Regions from separate parts of the Homo sapiens genome. Here region 2 is linked to region 1. Evidence: promoter capture Hi-C in 16 types of primary human blood cells and fetal thymus (Javierre and others, 2016). All regions are on one chromosome and are shown on one strand. The core of a region is centred on a gene start or on the middle of the fragment in contact, and the rest is flanking DNA. Distances in the headings are between cores, read along the strand shown. Region 1 holds the start of C1orf94 (chromosome 1 open reading frame 94). Region 2 holds the start of GJB5 (gap junction protein beta 5).

Region 1 (6,972 bases), core at 2,788-5,287:
ATTCGAGCAGCGGAAGATGGCTTCAAAAATCTCTTTCAAATTTGAAATGTCTAGGTTCCTATGATAAATAGGTGCAGAGTCAAGAAAAACAAATTCTGGCCAAAAAGAATTGTAGAATGCACTTACCTATCTACCACAATACAAGAAAACACCACCAAAACCAGGTCTACAAATTAAGCAGCAGAAAGACCAGCTGAGAGATATCTTGTGCACCTGAAGGCATTCTAGAAATAGTAAGAACAGCTCCCTGGCTTTTCACTCTGTGTGTGATCATTCAGTATATGGGACTCCCAACTATTTTGACTATTCAAAGATGCCCCAGATTCTAAGACAGGACAGCCGACATTATTGCCTCAGGGCCAAGGCGGTCTTGGGTTTCATTTCTGAAACTCTACTACTTCCTAACTGTAGGAGCTTGGGCAAAGAAATTAACCCCTCCAAACCTCAGCCACGTTATCTGTAAAAGTAATTTCACTTATAAATGGAGGGGTGGAGGTAGCAATTGAAACCAGAATGGCACAATGTGATAATTATTGAAACTCAGTGATAGACACATAGATATTCACCATATTATTATTCTATGTGTTTGAAAATTTGCATAATAAAAAGTAAAAAGAGATGGAAAGTTTAAAAGAGTACCTACCTCATGCAATAATTGTAGAGCTTAAAGAAATGATCACATCTGAATTGCAAGGAATTTTTACAAATCTGAATTATTACCATAAATGTTTAAATATCCCATTTAATCATTCCAACAACCCTACAAAATGTATAGTATTAATCTCCATTTGGCAGATGAGGAAACCAAAGTTTAGATAAATTAAAGAGTAACAAATTCTTCAAATGGCATGGGGCTGAAATGGAATCTGAAACCAGAGTTATCTGACTCCACCAGCACACCGCCTTTATTTTAAGAATAGCTCATTGTGTTCTATTTGGTTGACAATTAGGATGTCGTTTATTCGTCTAAGTCATTGGTTTCCTATCTCTTTTCTCAATAGCAGAAACATGTTTTTCAAATTCAGCCCTACTCAGAACTCTAGTAAGTAAAACTGATAAAAGCTAAACAGCTCTGGCTGAAATGGATTTTGGGGCCCAGCAACCAGCCCACTTGACTCCACAGTGACCCCTGAAGCACCTTGAGGTATATGGAGCATAGTGTGAACCCCAGATTGAAGCCAACAACAACAAAAACAACAACAACAACAACAAATCCCAACCTGAAGAAGTACATGTTAAGAGCAGCCTGATTTGTATAATGCATCTTTCATTTCCCTGTCTCCCATCACATTGGATCCTCATTATCAACTCTGAGGTAGACAAGGCAGCACATATCACCCTCAATTTGCAAATGAGGAAGTAAAGGCCAAATGGAGTTAAGCAGCTGGCCAAAGGTGCACCAGTTCAATTTTCAGCCAAGTGCAGACTGGAAGTCGAGTCTGTCTCCATTAACTCTGTGTGACCTGGCAAAGAGGATGCCATCTACTGGAAATTGCTACTGACCCTTGGTCCACAAAGTGGACAATCAGCTTCTTGGCCATTGAGAGCAGAGCACAGCCCCATGGGCCCTCCTGCCAAGGCCCTGTCCCAGAGCAGATGGCAATGAGCAGGGGAGAAGGGCTCAGTGCCACTGAAGGGCCTGACAGCAGGATTTTAGCTGTAGATGGGCCATTCCTGTCTGAGCCTTGTCATGCTGAGCACAGGGCAGGGAGGCAGGACTAGCCAAAGTGCCTTCCACCTTCATCTGCAGTAAGTAAATGAGCCCACAGAGGGACAGCAGGTAGTGTAGAGCTGGGTGTCATTTACACTTTGCTTTTCTTCTTAGCTCTTGCTTAGGCATCCCTGAAACCCGAGGCAGCTGATAAATGCCTGAATGGCTCCCCAACTCCAGAGCATCTCTGAACTGAGCTGTAGCATGTGTTGGAGCAGGCAACACTTAATTATCGGTTAGTCTTTAATTAGCTCTTAATTATTAACACTTAATCCATCTGTAAAATGGGGACACTAATACCTGCCTCACAGGGACTCTGGGAACATTAATTAAGTTTACAGTCCACTTTGAAGATGCAAAACGTGAAATAAGTAAGTGCTCAACGGCGGTATTAATAACCACAGCAGATTTACTTTCTTTTCCTAATTTCCCTTTTTCCTCTCTGCTCCTTCCTTTCCTTTCGAATATCCATCCTCAACAATATCTGCCCAACTTTGCCCTGATGGAGAAACACTTAGCTCTGTGTTTCCCAGACACAGGATTTCCCATCCCGGAAACGGGCTATTTACAGCCATCTTCCCGCACTTTAATTTTCTATTATGTCCTCTGAATATGTCAGTGCCTTCCCAGTAAATATTTTGATGTGTGCTCTTGCAGCAGCTTCTGTGGAGGCTGAATGGGACAGCTGCTCCCTGTATTAGGGAATTCCAGATGTGATTTAAAACCATCAGACTCATCCATGTGAATGCCTAGCCTTTAGGTGGGAGAGGGGAAGGATCTTCTAGTTGCTTCTGGGGAAAGCCACAAGCCATATAACCCTTAGCCTTAGCTAGGGTGGTTTTTCAAGGACCTCAGATTCACATGCGTTTAGGATGAGAAATGTCTGCTTAACGGGCTGGTGAAGAGGCAGCCTGGAATATAGCCCTAATCTGACTCTTCACCCACAAAACTTCAGAACTTTGGTCAGCTCTTCTATAAAGCTTGGACAAAGGACCATGGAGGGGGCAATATACAGCCTTTAGGGTTTCACCAGCCTCAACAGTGGGCCAGAACATTCCCCCAGAAGGTCAGACTTCATCTCCTCCCTCCTCCCTTGCTGCCAATGGAGTAGGGGGGTACTTACTCTTCTTGAAAGCTGAGCTCATTGCCTCTTAGAGTTCCAACCACAGGGACAGAGAGCTGCTCCATGGAGGTCCAGGGCTGTGAGGCCTCAGGCAGGCCTTGAACTCTCTTCCAGATTTCATGGCAAGTCTTGTCTAGGCTGTCTTGGGGTGTGTCCTGGTGGATCCAGATGTATCTGGGGAATGGGCCCAGGGCGCAGGGGCCCTTGGCCACCAGGGCCGAGGATGAAGGAAGCCCATTCCCGCTGGCCATCCTCCTCCTCTCTTTCTGGAAGCCCCTCTGTCCACCCAGGGCTAGAACACAACCACCACCACCCCTCATTCACCAGAAAGGGAGATGAGGATGGGGCTTGGCAGAAGTGGGTCAGTTCTGTCTGGCTTTCGCTCCAGCAAGGTGGTTAGGTTCAGAGGCCTTCTATTTGTGTGGGAGGGGTGGGTGGAGGACAGCTTTCTTTTGGGGAGGGGAGGGCTTATTTTGATTTGTTTTTATTTGCTCTTTCCTGACTTTTGCCTCCCTCCCCCTCTCCCTTAGAAGAAAATATTTAAAAGTCAACAAAAACCAGTAGCTTAGGAACAGTGGAATGCTGCGGAGCTCAGGAACCAGGCGCCTGGGCGGGCAGAATGACATCTGGGAACAGCTGGAAGGGGAGGGCTGGCTCTCCCCACAGTCCCTGGCACTGCCCCCTTGCGACGCCGCCGTGACAACTTTCGGCGCCTGGGCTCAGCCCATGCTGTCCCGCTAAGCCACGCGGAGGACTGGGTGCGGGCCTGGCACCATTGTAGGCACTCGGGGGGCGGGGCCCCGCAGGAGGCGCTCGCCTGGGCGTTCCCAGGGAGCCCCTCGCAGAGCGAGCGTCAACGGCCCGACTCCCACCCCCGGCCCAGGTCCTGCTTTTCTCTCGCCCTACCCCTCCTGCTCCCGGTCTCCCGCTGCTGCTCTGCTGCCCCCGGAAAGAAGGGATGAGGCGTGTGTGGATGGGCCCACAGCCCTTAGTCCCCGGCCCCCAGCAGACCCCTGCCCCAGCCGCGCCGCGCTGCCAGGCGGGCACCGGGAAGGGCCCAGCGGCTCAAGAGCGCGCTGACTCGGCAAGGCAGGCTGGGCCGGGCGGCTCCCACCAATTTGCCTGCCAGTAGCTCCCACACCCTCGCCGTCGTCGAGCGGGGGAATTCTTTCTGTGGGTTTCAAACGCAACGGCTCGGTGCGCGGGGCGCCCTGGGTTCGGAGCCCAAGACCCGCCGGTGGGGTGGGTGGGGGTGGGGCCCAAAGGACCCCAGAGCGCTTCGGGGGATCAGAAGTCAAAGCCAAACGCGCCGCCGCCCCACTTCGCCGCTCCACACAAATCTCAGCTCCTGCCTGGGGGTCCCCCGGCAACCTCGATTTTAATCCTAACTGCCATTTTATGGGGCGCTTGCCCTGTGCCAAGCGCTGGGCTCACATTCAATCCTATTAAAGCTCGTGAAATTAGTACCACTTTTTATTATCGTTCTACACGGGAGGAAAGCGAATCTCAAAGTCATAAGGGATTGCGTCCAAGGCCCCCTGAGAAAAGGGAAGCTGAGACTCAGACCCCAGCACTCTAGGCCTGATCTAGCCCTTGACCACTGAGACAGCTTCAGTAGGTGGGTAGGAGCAGGAGTAGGAGGTCCGAGGTGCAGGGAGAAGGGCTAAGTTAGCTGTTTGCTGATCAACAGGCCCCTACCCTCACTGAAGCGGCTTCATTCAATTGGGCACTGACACAGTACCTCTGCTGAGGGAGACTTTCTGGTTCCGAGAGTCAGGGGGTTGCTTCTCTAGCAATTCCCCTGAAAAGGAAAAGCAAGAGGGTGGAGACGGAAGAAAGAAGAATGGACACAAATAGAGGAAGATGGCAGTCTATAAATGCAGGGCTGGGTTGAATCCTGACACTCATTTCCGAGCTGTGTGACCTTAAGAACTTTCTGAACTTCTCCCATCCCCATTCATAATTCCCCCAGTACTGATGCAACCCCTCCTCTGTGCCCGATGAGTTGCTGGGCACTGAAGAAGCATAAGGGTGGGCAAAAATGGCATGGTCCCTGCTCTCCTGGAGCCTGTATACTAGCGAGGAGAGATCGATGCAAACCAGCCAAGCGAGTAAAGCAGCAATAATTACAGATGCAATGGGACTCTGATGGAAAATAACTATTAGGTTGGTGCAAAAGTAATTGCGGTTTTTGCCATCACTTGCAATGGCAAAAACCACAATTACTTTTGTACCAACCTAGTAACAAAGTGAGGCACTGGGGAGAAGAGGGGAGGCAATATTCCATGGTGGTCCAGGCCGACTTCTTTGAGGAGAAAAATTTGAGAAGGATGAGAGGAATTCCTTTTCTGTAAAATGGTGTTAATAAATTATGAGGATCATGTTTCTGGCACATAGTAGGCACTCAAAAAATATGTGTTGGATGAATTAATGGTATACTGTATGTAAAGTGCCTGGTATACAGTAGGTGCCCAATACGCAACCTTGCTCTTTACAGAGGGGCTGAGTTCCTGGAAATGTTTACTCTAAATTTTGAAATCTGAGCTTCATTCTCCTTTGATTTTCATTACAAAATTGAAGATGTGTTCCTTTGGGGAAAATTCTGAGGGCCTAGACTGAATAAAATTATAGTTAAGAATGTAGAAAACCTTTTAAAATAGTGTATTTAAAGGAAAAGTGATCATTTCTGATGAAATATTAATAGTTCTGAAAATGTCACTCAGTGTTTGTGCTGCTTGGCATTTGGTTGGCTAACACCTTAAGCTTAGAGCAGAACGCCAACGACCCTGCACTGCCCAGGCCCCAGGATTCTGGAAGTTAGCCAGCTCACTCACTCTTCCTGTTCCCTCTCCCCCTCAGCAGGAGACCAGGCAACGGGGGCTAAATCAGAAAGGACTGCAAAAAAAAAAAAAAAAAAAATCAAATACAGCAGGGATACGGAACAAAGATAGAGCATGTTTTTAGAGTGCACAGACGAGATTTCTAGAAAATTCTGCAAAAATCTTAAGTGATGTACTTAGAAATAGTATAAAGCTATGTCCATATGGTAGCCACTAGCCACATGGGGTTGTTTTAATTTTAACTTTATTTTTATATAAATTAAATGAAAAATTCAGCTCCTCATTTGCATTAGCCACATATTATGTGCTCAGTAGCCACATATGGCTAGTGGCTACCATATTGGACAGCACAGAGAACATTTCTTATCATTAAATACATATTCTCGGGAACCAGAGTCCCTGGGTTCAGATTCTGAGTTCACGTTTTCTGGCAATGTAAGCTTAGGCAAGTTACTCTGTGCCTTGGTGTATTAGTTTGGTAGGGCTACCATAACGAAGTCCACAGACTGTGTGGCTTAAACAACAGAATTTTATTTCCTTGCCATTCTAGAGGTTAGAAGGCCAAGACCAAGATGTTGGCATTGTTAGTTTCACTCTGAAGTCTCTCTCGCTGGCTTGCACTTGGCTGTGTTCTCCCTATGTCCTCACATGGTCTTCCCTGTATATGTGTCCCTGTCCTAATCACTCCTTTAAAGGACACCAGTCATATTAGATTAGGACACACCCTAATGGCTTTTTTCTTTTTTTTAATCTTAGCTACCTCTTTAAAGGACTCATCTCCAAATACAGTCACATCTGAGGTATTTGGTTTAGGATTGCAGCATATAATTCAGCCCACAACATTTGATTTCTTAGTCTGTAAAATGGGATGATAATGAAGAATACTTGCTTTGTAGAATTACTACAGATGTTCTATTACTAACCAATTGCTTAACACATGGAAAGTCCCTTGAACAACAACTGACAGATAAACGTGTTATACAGTTGTTTGCTTGTTGATTACACTGAAATGCATGCCTTTGGAGTTTCTGAATAGCAGCTTTTGTGTTTTGTGTAGAGAGGGAGAATTGTGTTGTACTGGGGAAGTTGTTCTGTGATGGAGAAACGAATTCACATAATCACTTACGCCTTTCCAGGCTTTGTTCATTTTTGAGCATCCATCATGGGTCAAAATTGTGAAAGACACAGGGATTAGAGATGATGAAAAAGATGTCTACCCTAGACAGAATCACCTAGTGACAGAGGCGGGGCAAAGCATTCCATAAGTGCCTGGTGCAGAGCAGTGTGATATAAACTGA
Region 2 (7,310 bases), core at 3,946-6,445, 580 kb before region 1:
GGTCCTGGGGAAGGCCTCCAGGGAGGCTGGAGTGTGACCTCACATATGCTGGTGGGGGGCCTGGGACCTGTGTTCTGGCTGGGATGATGAAGGTTAATGTGCAGCTAGGGAGGGGCCTTCTGCCTCGTTTCTCACAGGCATTATCAAGCACTTCCTAATACCAATGATTAACATTTATGTGTCCTTTTACAGCTGGCTAGCCCTGTCCACAGCCATGAGCTCATCAGTCCTCAGCACAACCCCACAGGCTAGGTATTATTAACCCATTTTGGAGAGAAGCTTAAGTTACTTTCCCAGAGTCCCGGTGGAACTTGGATTCGACACAGGCATTCTAAGTTCATGAACTTCCCACTGCAACATGGACTAAGCTCCATTCTCTCTGCAGACAACCCACAGGACTAAACTTGCCATGGGGGATAAAGGCTAGATGGGAGCATGAGCAAGTAGCACGTCCCCTGGAGTACTGGGGGCCCCCTTTCTGGAAGAGAGGATGCCCCTCACAGGCTGGATCAAGTGCAGCTCTTCACGGGGGCAGAGAGATTGACACCATGAACGTGTGAGGGTCACGAAGGCCGCACAACCAGAGGGCACCTGGAACCAGCAAATGAGTTGACTTTTATTAAGTTCTGACAGTGGGCCACACACGATGAAGGTGCCCGCATGTGTGTTCTTCTATGAACGCCCTCCTCCCTCCAACCCTGGGCATTGGCCCTCACTATTTCCATTCTAGAAAAGGAAACCGAGCTGCAGAGCAGAGGGGGAACTGGCCCAGTGCCGTCGAGCTGGGGCAGGTGGCTGGAGTTGAGGACTAGGAACTGGCTCCCAGAGCGTCTGAATCCTCTCTCTTGCCTGCCCCTACCTCATGGCTTAGCTCCCCCACTCTCAGGTTGCACCTATGAGAGATGCTAGAGCCTCCCCATCCAGGCCCAACCTGCCAGACCAGTCCAGGCAGCCCCTCACAAGATGGTTTTCTTCACATGGTCTCGGGGGCGGTCTGGTAAGAGAGGAGGATGACTGTCTGAGCCCAGAAAGATGAGGTCACCCGAAAGGAGGTCGTCTTGTTTGCAGGAAGAGGTGGTACCGTGGGGGTGATGACCTGTGCACATGGCTTGAGCTTTCCTTGCTGCCAGGCACTCGTGGCATCTCTTGCTCACCAGGTAGATGAGCTCCACGAGGTTGAGCAGGATGCAGATGGCAGCTGTGGCCACCATGAAGAGGGTGAAAATGTTCTTCTCTGAGGGCTTGGAGATGAAGCAGTCCACTATATTGGGACATGGATCTGCGTGGCACTTGACCACAGGAGGGAGGATATATTTGGGGTAGAATGAGTGGAACACATAGAGAAAGGCGATGTCCACGCTCGCCTTGAACACTAGGCTGCAGACATATGTCCACCAGAGCCCACCCCGCTTCTTGCCGGGGTTCAGGTAGAGGCGCCCACTGTTCTCCCCATGGGCTTCTCGGTGCCTCTTCTCCTGAACCTCCCGGTAGGCCACGTGCATGACCACGAGCAGTGAGGGGCATGTCACCAGGATAAGCTGCAGGGCCCAGAGGCGCACATGGGACACAGGGAAGAACTCATCAAAGCAGACGTTGGAGCAGCCGGGCTGGCGAGTATTGCAGTCGAAGTCCTTGTGGTCATCACTCCACACACGCTCGGCCGTCACCAGGTACACCAGCACGCGGAAGATGAAGACCAGAGACAGCCAGATGCGCCCAAAGGCTGTGGAGTACTTGTTGACCCCACTCAGGAGTCCCTCAAAGATACTCCAGTTCATGGTGGACCCACGCGTCAGCTGCTACTGCAGGGAAACAAGAACAATCATTTCCTACATTTATCACAGACTTGCTCTGAGCACTTTGTAGAAATATGTCATCACATTTCATCCTTACCATCACTAGAGGAGCTGGGTTCTACTACTGTCCCCATTTTGTAGAGGGAGGGAGCTGAGGTTTAGTGGCATTATATACAAGGTTACACAACTATTAGGTGCAGGGCTGGGATTTGAGCATAGGTAATTAAGTCCAGAACCCAGCTCTTACCAATACCAGTGGATAAGGGCAGGTCCAGGGAGCCACTCATTCCTCCCCGGGCCTGAGGCTCTGGTCTTGAGGTTCTGCAGAGTGAAGACTGGTGGAGCTGGGACATTCTGCCTGCTCCCTCTGTTTCAACCCTGGCCCTCCTCCTCAGGGGGGCTGAGCCTTGAGATGGTTCTCTCCTTTCTGAGCACTGCTGCCTCTTCTCAGACAGCCCCTTCCCCAGGGGAACCTGCTCTTTGTCCTTTTCTTGGCTCAGGGATGGGACTGGAAAGGAGGCTGGAACCTTGTCCCCAAGCCCCCATCTGGTCTAACACTCTGTAATTAGCCAGGCAGAGTCCTGCTCAAGTGCCACTCAATGCAATCCAGCTGAAAGCTAAAGCAGGCAGCAATAAATTCTCTTCATACAGTAGGTTTCCTAGAGTAACCTGGTATTCCAGTGTTTCCCAAACAGTGTTCCCTGGAACCCTGTCCCATAGGTTGGCAATAGGAGAAGTGAGAGAAGAGGATTCTGTGTCAAGAAAAGTTGGCAAACATTGGGTTTAGTAAAGTTAAATAGGGTTCTTTTGCTCAACCGTGCTAATAAACTCACTAATAAATTCACCAAAAGAGGTATGAAATATGTGGCATTGCCCAAACTCATTTGCCCACAGAAGCCCTTTTCCTCCTGACATAACATTTATCATCTTGTGGAACAGCCTTGTCAAGACATCAAGTGGGAAATGCTGCTCCTGTCAGTTCTGCTGGTGAATTTGGCCTGATGAACTCACAGAATCAGATTCACCTCCGCGTAAGGACTGTGACTGCTAGGCAGAGTAAGGGGTCCCCACTTCCTCACCCGCGAGTCCTCTGCCTGATTCCTGGAGATGGGGGTGTGTCCATTAAGACCCATGCACTGTGGTTTCAACCAACTGTGCACCCTGGGACCCCAAGGAACCTGTCTGCCTAGCCACTAAAGGGCTCATGATGGCCTTCCCATGCTGGTCCAGGCTGAAGCTCACCAGGCTCTCTGGAGCCTCTGCATGATCAACTGCAAAGCAGAGTAGTGATAACAGCCAATATCCATGAAGCATTCATGCCGTGCCAGGCACCGCTCTAAGTTCTTTGTATGAATCAGTACATTATTCCTTCACAGCAACCTTAGGAAAGGGCATATTTTTTATTCCCAATTTACAGATGAGGAAAGAGGAACACAGAGGGATTAATTAACTTGCTCAACGTCACACAGCTAATAAGTGGCAGAGCTAGGATTTGAACCCAGGCAGGCTGGCTCTAGAGCCCACCCTCCGGGAACTGCCCAGCCTTAGGCCTCAGACCCTTTCCTCAAGTTTCAATGAGCTGCCTGCCTGTTTGTGTGCAGACGGATTCTGTCCTTCCCCTTGTGTGTGGATCCTGGATGAGGGTGGCTGGGGGAACCTTTGCCCACCACCCTGTCTCCACACCACCTGCGCCACTTGGACGGGGGATGGGTGGAGGTGGGGGCCGGGGTTGGGGGGAGCTCTGTTTTGAATCACCATCTTGCATGCTCAGTCCTGTCTAAGGTAGGACTCCTGCAGCTTCTCAGGGAACACCCAGGAAGGCCCCGCCCTTAGCCCCAGGGGCTCTCACCCAGCCCATCCCTACTTGGGGAGGAGTGGGGCAGGGCTTTGCAGGCCCAGGCAGAGCTACCCTGCCTGCTGAGCTTCCGGCCTGGCCCCTGCTCCTACCTTTGCCCGGCTGGGGAGACCTGAAAGAACCCAGAGCCCCTTATTCCTCCACCATCAGGACCCAGGGTGGCAGATGTGTCCAGGCCACATCCCACCACTCCCCAGCAGAGAAGTGTCCTCCTGCCACGTATGCCAAGGGGCAGGGCACATGCGGACACAGATGCCCTTACCTGAGTGACTACTCCTCAGGGCTCTCCTGGCTCCCAGCAGCCGGCAATAGGACTCAGCAAGCAGCTTGAATTTCATATCCAGAAGCGGGGAAGGTTTTCGGGGAAGCCCGTTGAAGCCTGTTTCCAGGACAGAGCCTGCCGGGTGTGCTGGCCCAGCCTGGGAGGAGGAGGAGCTGGGACCTGCACTGCCATTGGCTGGGCCCCAGCCTCCCCAGACTGCTTCTGATGAGGCTCAGGAAACTGAGGGGTTCACTCCTCCCAGGGCGCTGAGCCTCGAATCCTGGTATCCTCTCAGGGGAGAGCCACAGGTCCACTCTGACTCCTTGTTCATCCTCCCATCTGTGGGCTTGTGTGGGAGAAGCTGAGGCCTGAATCCCAGCTCTGCCACTTTCTCACTGTGTGATTTCTTGCCTTCTCTGTGAAAGTGGGAAAAGAACAACACCTACCTCATAGGGTGGATACGTGGATTAACCCAGCCTTAGGGGTGAAGTGCTTAGAACAGTGCCTGACACAAGGGAAGCCCTGTCTACAATTGCCTATAATGCGTGTATACTGCCCAGCACAGGCCTGCCGCATGGTATGTCCTCAAAAAAATGTTTCTTCCTCCTCCTTTTCCTTATTCCTAGGCCTTTTCTTTCTGAGATACAGGGAAGGCAGAGGAGAAGGGAGGGAGAGAGAGACGTATGCACTAGAGAAAATCTCATTTGGATGCATGTTGTCTTTGGGTTAAAAAGGCCAAACCCAAGCCAGGCAGGAACCACAGGAGAGGTGGAGAAGGTGGGCAGGGGCACCTGGGGAAAGCTTCTCATTAGTGCACAGACACGGTCTTTTGGCCTAATTGACTTCCAAGGTGCCCTGTATCAGCAGGTCACTTGGGGTCAGGATTCAACAGACAAAGCATCCAGGAGCCACAAACACCTCATGTCCACAAGCAAACACAATGTAGCTTCACATGAGCATACTCTTACACACAGGCCACAATTATGGGCACAGTGTTGCACACACATGCAGCAGTGGCTTTATTTTATTCACTGCTCTATCCCTTGTGCCTAGTATGGTGCCTGGTGTCTTGTCCAGTTAGGCTTCAATTTATATTTATTGAATGAATGATGTGTGAAATGCACACACCCTGCAGAGAGTCACACATTTCTATACTCCATGCTCTTTCCAAAAAGCTGTTGCCAAGTACAGGAGAGAGGAGGCATATAAAGAGATCAGTTACAACATTGTGAGAAGTCCTAGAAAAGACACAGAGAGAGAAGGGAGTTTTAAGTTCTGCCAGAGGGAGAGCCGGAGAAGGTAACATTTAAGCTGGGTCTTGAAGGATGTATAGGAGTTTACCAAGAAGAGATGCTGAGGAGGGGCCTTTGAGGCAGTGGGCACATAGCGTGCAGAGGACCTTTGTGAAAAATAATGGAAGAGCATTGGAGAGTGGGCTGGGTAGTGGTGGGGACACCACATGGCAAGGAGCCTGGAAGGTCAGCAAAGACCTTCCAGACCATGAAGGACCTGGAATGTCATGCTAAGGAGTTTGAATTTATCTTGGGTGCAGAGGGAGGCATGAGGGAATTCTTTTCTTTTTTCTATTTTTACATTTTGTATTGTGCTGAGGCAGGAAAAAGGAAGAGACATGGTCAGATTGGTACATTTGATTCTCATTATTCAAGGTAGTTATAGTCTATGAGTCACCATGAGCACCAAGTTAGTGAATATTGAAGCATTCTTCCTAGAGGACATATGAGGTTAGGTTCCTGCAAGCTTCTGTTTACAATGTGGTTATCAACTGATCAATACAGAAGTCTGTTTTATGTGTGTTTCTGAAGACACCTTGTTTAATATATATTGTTGACTCATTAATATTGGACTCATAGCCAACACCACTATAACTCATGACTGAATGAAGCTTGTCTAACACACATATTTTTTCCATAAGGCTCATCGTAGCCTTCGTGTGCTTAGAAACACTAGATGGCACTTCAGCACTGTACTCGGGGCCATTTCAAACAGCAAATCCCCAGCAAAAAGCAAGAAATGAGAAAAACATGGCACCAAGTAGACCTCCAATAGAACATGTTTATAGCATTAGAGCTGAAAGGGGAAGGCAGAATGTCACCTTGTTCAGCCACAGCTGGGAACACGTGCATTGGGAGACTCAAATTTTTGCCACTCTGTGCATGTTATAAATGGCCATGAAAGTGTCTTAAGTGTAGATTTTGGCTTAGGAATAAATTGTGGTGAGCTGGAGAATGCACAATACGGAATCTGTGAATAATGAAGATCAACTGTATGTTTAGAAAGCTTCCTCTGTTTGAGAAAAGAGGCTGGAGGGGCTTGTGAGACCGGTATGAAAGTTACTGCAATGATTTAGGCAAGAAATGAGCAAGAGGGTTGGATTTGGGAAATAGCTGGTAAATACAGCTGGCAGCTTTGGGGGACTGACTTGGGGGACTGACTGGATGTAGGATGTGAGGCAGGAGGCTGACCTAGGATGGTTCATAGGTCACTGGTTTTGGTGATTTGATAGGTGATTGGGCCACTGATAGAAATAACCCTATGAGGTAGGAACTCCAATGGCTCCATGTTCCAGATGGGAAAACTGAGGCCCAGAGAGGCTAAGAAACTTGCCTGGGCTTGCACAATCAGTAATCAGGAGAGCTGGGGGTGGAATTCAGGTAGCTGAGCTCCAGAGCCAGTGCTTTTAACACCGTAATGCTTCAACATCTTCATACCCAAGGATTTGGCAACACTGTCGGCTCCTTTATGCTTGATAAACAGAATCATTTACTCATCGTCAAATATTCATTAAGCACCTACTATGTGCCACGTGTTGCGCCTGATAGTGGAAATAAATCAGTAAGCATGGTTCTCATGGTTCAACCTCTGGGCCTGGTCCTCTTGAAGATTACAGTCAAAGGAGGAAATAAGACATTAAACACACACACACACACACACACACACACACACACACACACACCAATAACTCTAAAAATGCAATTGTGATAGAGTCACAAAGGAGAAGCACAGTGCCAAGAAAATGTATAATGGAGAACCAGACCTAGTTTCAGGAAGCAGGGAAAGCCTTTCTGAAAGTGTAAGATTTAAATTGAGGCCTGGAGCTTTCTCCTCTGCCAGTAACCCTCTGCCTGCTTCCTAAAATGCCAGCACTCTCCAGAGCTCTCCTGGATTCTCTTCTCTCAGTGCACTCTCCACAGGCTGTGGCTCCTACCACCAGCTTGGGGCTGAGGACTCCAACTATTGCTGCCACCTCGTGACCCTGGATAGTTCATGTGGCTCTTACTCAGCACACGTAGCACTGAACTCATTAACTCCAAACACATCTGTGATGAACCTATGCACCACTTTTCCCACTCACTCCCCCTGCTATGCTTGGAATGTG

What was found. The method cuts DNA at HindIII sites, captures the fragments that hold promoters and counts their contacts. A CHiCAGO score of 5 or more calls a contact.
Region 2: a fragment that was not itself captured here is called in contact with the fragment with the promoter of C1orf94 in region 1 in 1 of 17 cell types (erythroblasts); the score reaches 5.1 in erythroblasts.

The regions. Positions count from the first base shown.
Region 1 is chr1:34,173,972-34,180,943 of GRCh38, reverse strand. C1orf94 (chromosome 1 open reading frame 94) reads right to left here and starts at 4,037. Exons shown (of 7, transcript NM_001134734.2): 1 at 2,835-4,037. The coding sequence starts at 3,154. RefSeq lists an enhancer at 1,227-1,727 and a silencer at 3,442-3,736. The HindIII fragment of the contact is 2,906 bases long and covers 2,694-5,599 here.
Region 2 is chr1:34,751,799-34,759,108 of GRCh38, reverse strand. It overlaps GJB5 (gap junction protein beta 5), which reads right to left and starts at 4,062. Exons shown (of 2, transcript NM_005268.4): 1 at 3,914-4,062; 2 at 597-1,802. The coding sequence starts at 1,778. The coding sequence ends at 957. The HindIII fragment of the contact is 957 bases long and covers 4,717-5,673 here.